Linked DNA regions of Homo sapiens: region 1 is linked to region 2. Evidence: promoter capture Hi-C in human tissues and cell types (Jung and others, 2019). All regions are on one chromosome and are shown on one strand. Each heading gives the region's core, a stretch centred on a gene start or on the middle of the fragment in contact. The rest is flanking DNA. Distances are from core to core; before and after follow the strand shown. Region 1 has its middle 26 kb from the start of NDFIP1. Region 2 holds the start of ARAP3 (ArfGAP with RhoGAP domain, ankyrin repeat and PH domain 3).

Region 1 (4,398 bases), core at 1,655-4,154, 400 kb before region 2:
CTCTTTCTCTTTACCAACAGAACTTGAATTTTATGCAGGGCAGCAATGTGCCCAGTTAAAAATACTCAGCCATGTGTGGTGGCTGCTGCCTGCAATCCCAGCTACTAGGGGGTATAAGGCAGGAGGATTGCTTAAGGCCAGGAGTTTAAGACCAGCCCAGCCGACCCCATACCTGAAGTAAATAAAAGTTAAGATACTCACCTTCCAGACTTACTTGCCACTCAGAGTGGCTCAGTTTGACCACTGGGAGGTATATAAGCAGTATGAGGTATGTATTAGTCTGTTTTCACATTGCTGTAAACAACTGCCCAAGCCTGGGTAATTTATAAAGGAAAGAGGCTTAATTGACTCACAGTTCAGCATGGCTGAGGAGGCCTCAGGAAACTTACAATCATGGCAGAAGATGAAGGGGAAGCAAGGCACCTTCACACGGCAGCAGGAAGGAAAGGTGCTGAGTGAAGGGGAAAGAGCCCCTTATAAAACCATCAGATCTTGTGAGGACTTACTGTCGGGAGAACAGCATGGAGAAAACTGATTTTCCCCATGATTCAGTTACCTACACCTGGTCTTTCCCTTGACACCTGGGGATTATGGGGATTACAATTCACAATAAGATTTGGGTGGGGACACAAAGCCTAACTGTATCAAGGTATAAACAGTATTATCATATAAGGAGCTTCCAAGACAATTGTATCCCTCATCAGAAGGGAGAGATTCAGCTGATACATACTCTTTGAACTTTATTCTTCCCCTGTTCCTGCCTGAAGAAAGAAAATGACACCTAGAATGGTTGCAATCGTCTCATAAGAGCCACATTCTAGGAACGAGACAGCAGGAAAACAGGAAACCCAGGCCTTGGTGGGTTCGTGATAAATCCTGGACCACATGCCCCAGACTTCTTGTTACATGATGAAATTAACTCTTAGTGGGTTAAGCCACTGTTGTCAGGATTTGGTTACACGCAGCCAAATGCAGTCTTGAGTGAATAGCCTACCTTAAAAGGTTGCTGTGAGGATTCGTTTGAGATAATGTTTGTGAAACACTTAGCCCAGTACCTGGAACACAGGCATAGCCTAATAAATATTTGCTGATGAGTTGCAGTTTTCTTCCTTATAAAAAAGAATTAAGTGCTGGACATGGCGGCTCACGCCTATAATCCCAGCACTTTGCGGGGGTGAGGTGGGCGGATCACTTGAGGTCAGGAGTTCAAGACCAGCCTGGCCAACATGGTGAAACCCCATCTCTACTAAAAATACAAAAATTAGCCAGGCGTGGTGGCACGTGCCTGTAATCCCAGCTACTAGGGAGTCTGAGGCAGGAGAATTGCTGGAACCCGGGAGGCAGAGGTTGCAGTGAGGCGAGATCATGCCACTGCACTCTAGCCTGGGTGACAGAGCAAGACTCTGTCTCAAAAAAAAAAAAAAAAAAAAAAAAGGAATTGAGCCAAGCGCAGTGGCTCATGCCTGTAATACCATCACTTTGGGAGGCCAAGGTGGGTGGATCATCTGAGGTCAGGAGTTCAAGACCAGCCTGGCCAACATGGTGAAACCCCGTCTCTACTAAAAATACAAAATCAGCTGGGCGTGGTGGCGTATGCCTGTAATCCCAGCTACTCGGGAGGCTGAGGCAGGAGAATAGCTTGAACCCAGGAGGAAGAGGTTGCAGTGAGTCAAGATCAAGCCGTTGCACTCCAGCCTGGGCAACAAGAGTGAAACTCCATCTCAAAAAAAAAAAAAAAAAAAAAAAAAGGAATTGAAAATCTGATCCAGAGTATAGACAATAATAGAAACTTGGGAACTTTATTTGTTAAGGTGTTAGAATAATGCCCAGCACACAAACACTTTATAAATATTTGTAAATATAATTCTAACAGATGTTTATTGAATGCCTCTTATGTGCCAGGCACTGTTCTAGATGCTGGGGCTACAGCAGCGAGCAAGACAGTATTCCTGCTCTTATGGTACTTTCATTTTAGAAAAAGTAGGAGGTGGCATATGTAAGAAAATAAAGGTCAAGAAGTTGTCAAGAAAACAAGATGATGTGAAGGAACTCCTTGGGTGAGTTATAGAGAGAATGCCTTCTGAAGGTGGTGACATTTGAGAACTACAAAACCCTTGGCACAAATGACTCCATCCAATACCATTGACCACCCTCCCAACCTTGCTGCACTAAGAGACTTGACTAAACTCTAGCATGACTTCTGGCCCCAGCCCCACTTTAAGTGCCTGCTTGAGAAAGCTCAACACTGCCAAAAAAATGTACTGTTCCCACCAAGACCTGACAATAGGTTCCTGATTTCTTTACTCTTAGAGCCTTTACTTTAGAAAGCTTGCCATTATGAATCCTTTCCCTGCCCCTTTAAGATGTAAATATGTTACCATTCAGAAAAGTTTCCTCAAGGACATAGGAGCCATCTCTTTGAAAGGCAGACATCCAGGGAGGTAGTACTTCTGTCTCCCAGTTCCTTTGGGAGAGTAAGAGCCTAACTTCTGTGGGTGCCTTGCTCCAATTTACAAAACTACCTCCTGCCCTAATGATAGGAGCAGTTTGTTTCTCCTCCACAGAAGTTCCAGTTAACAAACCCAGATAGCCCAATCAGGTAGACTAAAGCCCCCTTAATGTCCTTTAGTATCTTTCCTTTAGCACACTCCGGGATTTAAAAGGCTTTCAAGCTTTTGTTTTGGTGGAGTTGAGCTGCCTTTACACTGAAGTCTCTCTCCCTTGTGGCAGTAGTACTGAATAAATTTTTTTTGTCTTACCACCTGTAACAAGTGGCTCTGTTACTCTTTGACACATTGAAAGTAAGACCTGATTTGTAAGAAGGAGCCAACTCCTGAAAAGTCTGGAGGCAGAACATTGCAGGCAGAGGGAGGCTCGTCAAAGGACCTAAAGAAGTTATAAATTTGGAGTTATGGAGGAATAGTCTTTCTGAAATTACCAAAAGTTTGTATCTGCAACCACAGAGAGGAATGGGTATACAGGGAAAATTCACATTTTGTGGAGCCTGAGGTTTATACAATTTGGATAACCCTCTTTAAGAAAAAGAATGCAGCCGGGCGTGGTGGCTCATGCCAGTAATCCCAGCACTTTGGGAGGTCGAGGCAGGAGGATCACTTGAGGTCAGGAGTTCCAGACAAGCCTGACCAACATGGTGAGACCCCGTCTCTACTAAAAATACAAAAATTAGCCGGGCGTGGTGGCATGTGCCTGTAATCCCAGCTACTCAGGAGGCTGAGGCAGGAGAATCTCTTGAACCCGGGAGGCGGAGGTTGCAGTGAGCCCAGATGGCACCACTGCACTCCAGCCTGGGTGACACAGTGAGACCCCAACTCAAAAAAAAAAAAAAAGAAAAAAGAAAGAAAAAGAAAAAGAAGGAAAAGAAAAAACAGAAAAAGCATACAAAATTCCAAATACAAAATGGAGCTTTGGAAGGGACCTTTGCAAGTGAATGGCCCCGAAGCTTAAGCTTCAGCTTTATGAACTTCCTAGAAAATCTATTTAGACCTGATCTGATGACAAAAACTAGATTTGAAGTATGAATTATTCAGAATTATTCAGACTCTTTTAGCAGTGAGAAACCCATTTGTGCTAGATTAAGTGAAAAAAAGTGGACATGTATAGTAGCAATCCAGGGTATCTCACAGGACAAAGCATGATAATTTAGCTGGGGCAAATATATGTTGCAACCAGAGACTCAAACACCAGCAGCACTCCCCATCTTTCACCTGTACCTCTCTAAACCTACACATGTGCTTTGTCTCTATCTTATCTTTGCAGATAACCTCCATCTGCTTTCCTGACCCATAGGATAGAAAATCATGGCCGTCTAGAGCAGCAGTCCCCAACCATTTTGGCACCAGGGACTGGTTTCATGGAAGACAATTTCCGTGGACAGGGGATGGAGGGATGCTTTTGGGATGAAACTGTTCCACCTCAGATCATCAGGCATTAGTTAGATTTTCATAAGTGGTGCTGAGTGCATACCCTAGATCCCTCACATGCACAGTTCACAATAGAGTTCCTGCTCCTATGAGAATCTAATGTCACTGCTGATCTGAGAGCAGGCGGAGCTCAGGCAGTAATGCTTGCTCACCTGCTACTCACCTCCTGCTATGCAGCCCAGTTCCTAATAGGCCATGGACTGGTACAGGTCCACGACCCAGGGGTTGGGGACCCCTGGTCTAGATCACTTCACTTTACGTGTTACGGCTCCAACTGCCATGTTACGACTTCCAGCATTCTCACGGAAGCACTCTGACAGGTTTGAGTCACATTTCATCCTCTGGTCAAAAACCAGCACCTAGGAGACCACTCAACCCTGGAATCAAGACAAAAGCAGTCATCTGAAAAAGAGGAATCACTGTGTGCCAAGAAGCAAACTCAAGCGGTGTCTGCCTC
Region 2 (4,433 bases), core at 802-3,301:
TTTATGCATTTTAAAATATTATTCTGAGATGAGACCACATACTTTACCGTATTGCCAAAGGAGAACATGGCACAAAAAGGTTCAGAACTCTTGCATCTAGCCCCTGACCCAAACTCCCCGGCATCCATTCCTCAAAACTCCCTGTGCCCTTTACTGTCTTTTCCTGCTCCCTTATTTTGCTGGGTTAGTCTGAGTCCTTAAAGAAGAAGCTGCCAAGGCAGAATGCAAGGATTTGACTAGGGGAGATGCCTGTGAGAGAGGAAGGGAGCCTGGAGCTAGGAGAGCTGTGAAGGAGAGAGGGAAGGAATAAAGGTTGAGAGGAGCATCCTAAAACACCAGTCAAAGGAAAGTTCAGCAAAGCCATTGGGAAATCTTGATCCAAAGTCAGCTGTCAAAGGAGTCCCCTATCTCCCAGGAATGGGTCTGCCTTAGATCTCTGCTGAGCTCTGTCACTGGCTGGGAGCAGCCCAGTGGGAAGCTGGCCTTAGATTTCAGAGAGAAGCAGCTGGGGCCATTGGTTAATTTCACTCCTCACAGTGTAAGATCTGTGAGGAGCATTCTCACTGCCACCACAGTTGCCCATCTGAAAAAAAGGACATGGTGCAGGGGTCCTGTCCAGGGTGGTAGGTGAGCATGGTAGTTATAGATATAGACTTGGAGGGTTGGCTATTTTCTAGCTGCAGAGTCTTGAGCAAGTTATTTAATGCTCCCTGTCTCCTTATATGTAAAATAGAGGTGATAAAATTTCCTATTTGTAGGGATATTTGTGAGGATTAAAGTTTGCAAAGCAATGTTTACATAGATCCTGGAGCACGGTCAGCTCTCAATAATTGGTAGCCCTTATTATGGCTATTGCAATTATTATTTTATTACTATAATTCTCTTTCTCAAAGGGAAGGCCGGGAAAGTGGGGCTCCAGTAGGTTGAAGATGACAGTCCCTCCCCTAGCTGAGGCAGCTGGAAGAGGTGGGAACCACTTCCTCCCACTCCCCTCTTCTTCCCCTGAGGCAGGGGTCTTCCCCTAGCTACTGACAGTTCCTGTGTCTGCTGACTCACAGCCAACTTCCTCTCATACAAACAGGAAAACACAGCCGGCCAGCGCCCCCGCCACCCCCAACACATACACACACACACACACACACACACACACACACACACACACACACACACACACAAACACCCCCCCCCCACACCCAAACACTGGTCCTGCTCAGAGAGGGAAGTGCCTCCGCCCCTGGGAGACAGGCTCCAGGACCGGGGTTCCGGCAAGATTAGCGAAGGAGAGAAGGGCCATTCCTCTTCAGGCCTCCCCGGCATCCCCCCTGAAATTTTAGGGTGGGAGTTGGGGAGAAGGGGCGGCTTCTCCCATGAATGAAACAGCTGCTTGCTTGGTCACTGAGCTTGCAGGGCGTCCGCCTGTCCCAAAAAGGCAGCCCCAAACCTTGGTTTGGAAGTAGGGATGTGCCTTGCGGACCTTCATCCCTCGAAGGAACCTAGGCCGGGCCCTTGGGGATGGAAGTGGGGAGAAACAGACGGGTACCCCTCTGCTGGGCCTCTGCGCTTGTTGCCCAGGCCAAGTCTCAATTCTGGATGTCCAGCTTCCGTCCCCACACTAAACTGGTTGCCAGGGTCCAGCCACCCTTCCGGGCGTGGGAGAGGTGCCCTGGGGGATTAGGGCTCGACCTTTCCTCCTCCCTTTTGGCAGGACTGGAGGGCATGGGAGCAGCGGAGAGGATGCAAAGCCGTCCCTGGCACTCTCCCTTTCTCAGTTTCTACCTCCGTCCCAGTCTCCGTCCCGGTCTCTGCCTCTTTGTCCCTCTCCCTGAGGTTGTCTTCGTCCCAACGTGTTCTGGTCCTTTCTCGGCCTGCGAGAGGGCAGACTGGGGGCAGACTCGGAGATAAGCGCGGCGGTTGGGCAAGAAGCCCAAACCCTTTGGAGGCCTGCGCTTGCACAAGGAGTGGCCGGGGCCCCGCGGAGGGAACCGGCCGGGCGGGGCGGGGCTGGGCCCGTCGAGGGAGGGCAGAGGGGAGGCGGGGCCGGCGCGGCGGGACCCAGAACCTCGGACGAGCGGCGGGCACCCGCGAGCGGACGGCGGCCGCGTAGTGAGGTGAGGACCCCCGCGCCCCCCGGGTCCCTGCTTCCCAGACTCCTCCCCATCACCTTCTCGAGGGCCTTCGTGGGCTCCCAGGCCCCCTCGGCGCCGGCGGCCCTCCCCATCCCTGCCACGACCCGCCCCTCCCTCCTGCTGCCCGGCCTCTGCCCCATCCCTCCTCGCCCCCTCCCTCGTCGCAGCCTGCGCTGCCCGCCACTGCCCGCCCCGCCCCCGCCACTCCTGTCCCGCGAGCACCTCAGCTCCCAGCCCCGTGCTGTCGAGCCCGGCCTGAGTCACCGGGAAACCGGGCCCTGAGTCAGGGCCCGAGGCTCAGCACGCGGGCCCTGGCTTGGGAATGAGGCCCAGCTGGAGAGAGGCAGAGGGAGGCCAGCAGTGATGCTGGGACGGAGAGGGCGTCCTGGTCACCGACAGAGCACAAGAGTAACAGGGAGAGAGCCTAGGCCGAGGCGGAAGACAGAAACCCAGGCTCAGAGGCAGACAGAGACACAGATACAACTCAAGATCTGGTTAGAATTGTAGACTGAGTCAAGGACAAGCTTAATAACAGAGAGCAAAACAGGGTGGGACAAGGAGAGGGACAAAGAAGAATTGAGAGGTTGAGATGGAATGGGGCAGGGACAGTGACAAGGCAGAGATAAAACTCAGGGGCCACAGAATTAGAGACAGGTCTATGAAATAGACCAGGGTCAGGGTCGGGGTCAGGCTGGTGGAAGGGGGACAGAGCACAGAGACCTGAGCCCAAGGGAATGAGCAGGGAAAAGGCAAGCTCAGAAAAGGAAGGCTTGGAGAAAGCAGAGGTGGGGGGATGGCATTTCACACTGCCAAATCGCTACAGGGCATGTGCACACACAGGTGAACAGCATGTGAACATGCTGCCGGTGGGCAGAGAGTCCAGAAGCCTCTGGAGTACCCCTGACCAGAGGTCAGGCCTCATCTCTCTGGCATCCCCATCCTTATTCTTCAATTAGCCTCCACCCAGGGCCGGGACCCCACACATTAGGACTGGTTAGGGCTCTCCCGGCAGCCTGACCAAAGCAGGCAGGATGTGGAGGCGGCCAGGGCTGGAGGGACAGGAAGGAAGTCTGAGCAGAGACAATAGGTGGAAGGGGAGGAGGGACTGGGAACAACCAGGATTAGGACGGCAGGCCTGCATACATCGGCTCTGGAAACAAGAGGGAGGGGGCGTCTGCACCTCCTTCCTCCTATCTAGGCTGCCCCTCTCCCTACCTTACTCCAGAGCTGATTGGCCACATCATTGGCCCCTCCTCTGCATCTCCCTATCCCACTCTGACCCACAGCATTCTAGCATCTTGTCCCATGCTTACTCAGTTGGATGTGCAGTCAGGCAGGAGCAGAGCTTTGACCCAGACCCAGGGTGGGCAGGAACTGAGGGGCCAACTCTAGCACTGACTTACTGTGAACCTGGGGCAAGCCCCTTCCCCTCTCTGGGCCTCAGTTTCCTTAACTTCAAATGAAGTCCCTTCCCTAAGTAGAGAGCCATTGCTGTTGTTCTGGGATGGCTCTGCTTCCAGATCGCAGGCCTTTCAGCATCTTTCTTTGGAGGAAGATTGGAGGCTGGTGCTCACTGTCCAGGCCTCAGACTCTGGGGCAGAGAGGGGGATTCTCAGCCTGAGCCCTCCCTTCACCCTGCCCCTCCCCCCAGCAATGGCCTGAGCCCCCATGGCTGCCCCTCAGGACCTGGACATCGCTGTGTGGCTGGCCACGGTGCACCTGGAGCAGTATGCAGACACGTTCCGACGGCATGGCCTGGCTACAGCAGGTGCAGCCCGGGGCCTGGGCCACGAGGAGTTGAAGCAGTTGGGCATCAGCGCCACAGGGCACCGGAAACGCATTCTACGCCTGCTACAGACAGGCACCGAAGAGGGCTCCCTGGATCCCAAATCAGATAGTGCCATGGAACCATCCCCCAGCCCAGCCCCGCAAGCCCAGCCCCCTAAGCCCGTGCCGAAGCCCAGGACCGTGTTTGGTGGACTCAGTGGCCCTGCCACCACTCAGAGACCTGGGCTGAGCCCAGCCCTCGGGGGACCAGGAGTGTCCAGGAGCCCAGAGCCCAGCCCAAGGCCTCCTCCTCTCCCCACTTCCTCCTCTGAGCAGTCTTCAGCCCTAAATACTGTGGAGATGATGCCTAATTCCATCTACTTCGGCCTGGACTCAAGAGGCAGGGCACAGGCAGCTCAGGACAAGTGAGTGGAGTTGGCTCCCTAGGGACTGATGCTGGGAGGAGTGGGGAGGAGAGCATGAGGGGGACGGAGGCGGGGAGCAGGGCATGAAGGCTTGTTCTTCCTCCTCTCTCCTTAA

Evidence for each region. The method cuts DNA at HindIII sites, captures the fragments that hold promoters and counts their contacts. A contact is called where the count stands out against the background at its distance.
Region 1: a contact is called between a fragment that was not itself captured here and the fragment with the promoter of ARAP3 in region 2, in 1 of the 25 tissues and cell types used here (spleen).

Annotation. Positions count from the first base shown.
Region 1 is chr5:142,080,350-142,084,747 of GRCh38, reverse strand. No RefSeq gene overlaps it. Among named protein-coding and RNA genes, the nearest start is that of NDFIP1, 26 kb to the left of the region's middle. The HindIII fragment of the contact is 5,041 bases long and covers 384-4,398 here.
Region 2 is chr5:141,679,848-141,684,280 of GRCh38, reverse strand. It overlaps ARAP3 (ArfGAP with RhoGAP domain, ankyrin repeat and PH domain 3), which reads left to right and starts at 2,051. Exons shown (of 33, transcript NM_022481.6): 1 at 2,051-2,108; 2 at 3,778-4,318. The coding sequence starts at 3,795. RefSeq lists a silencer at 2,002-2,051. The HindIII fragment of the contact is 12,570 bases long and covers 1-4,433 here.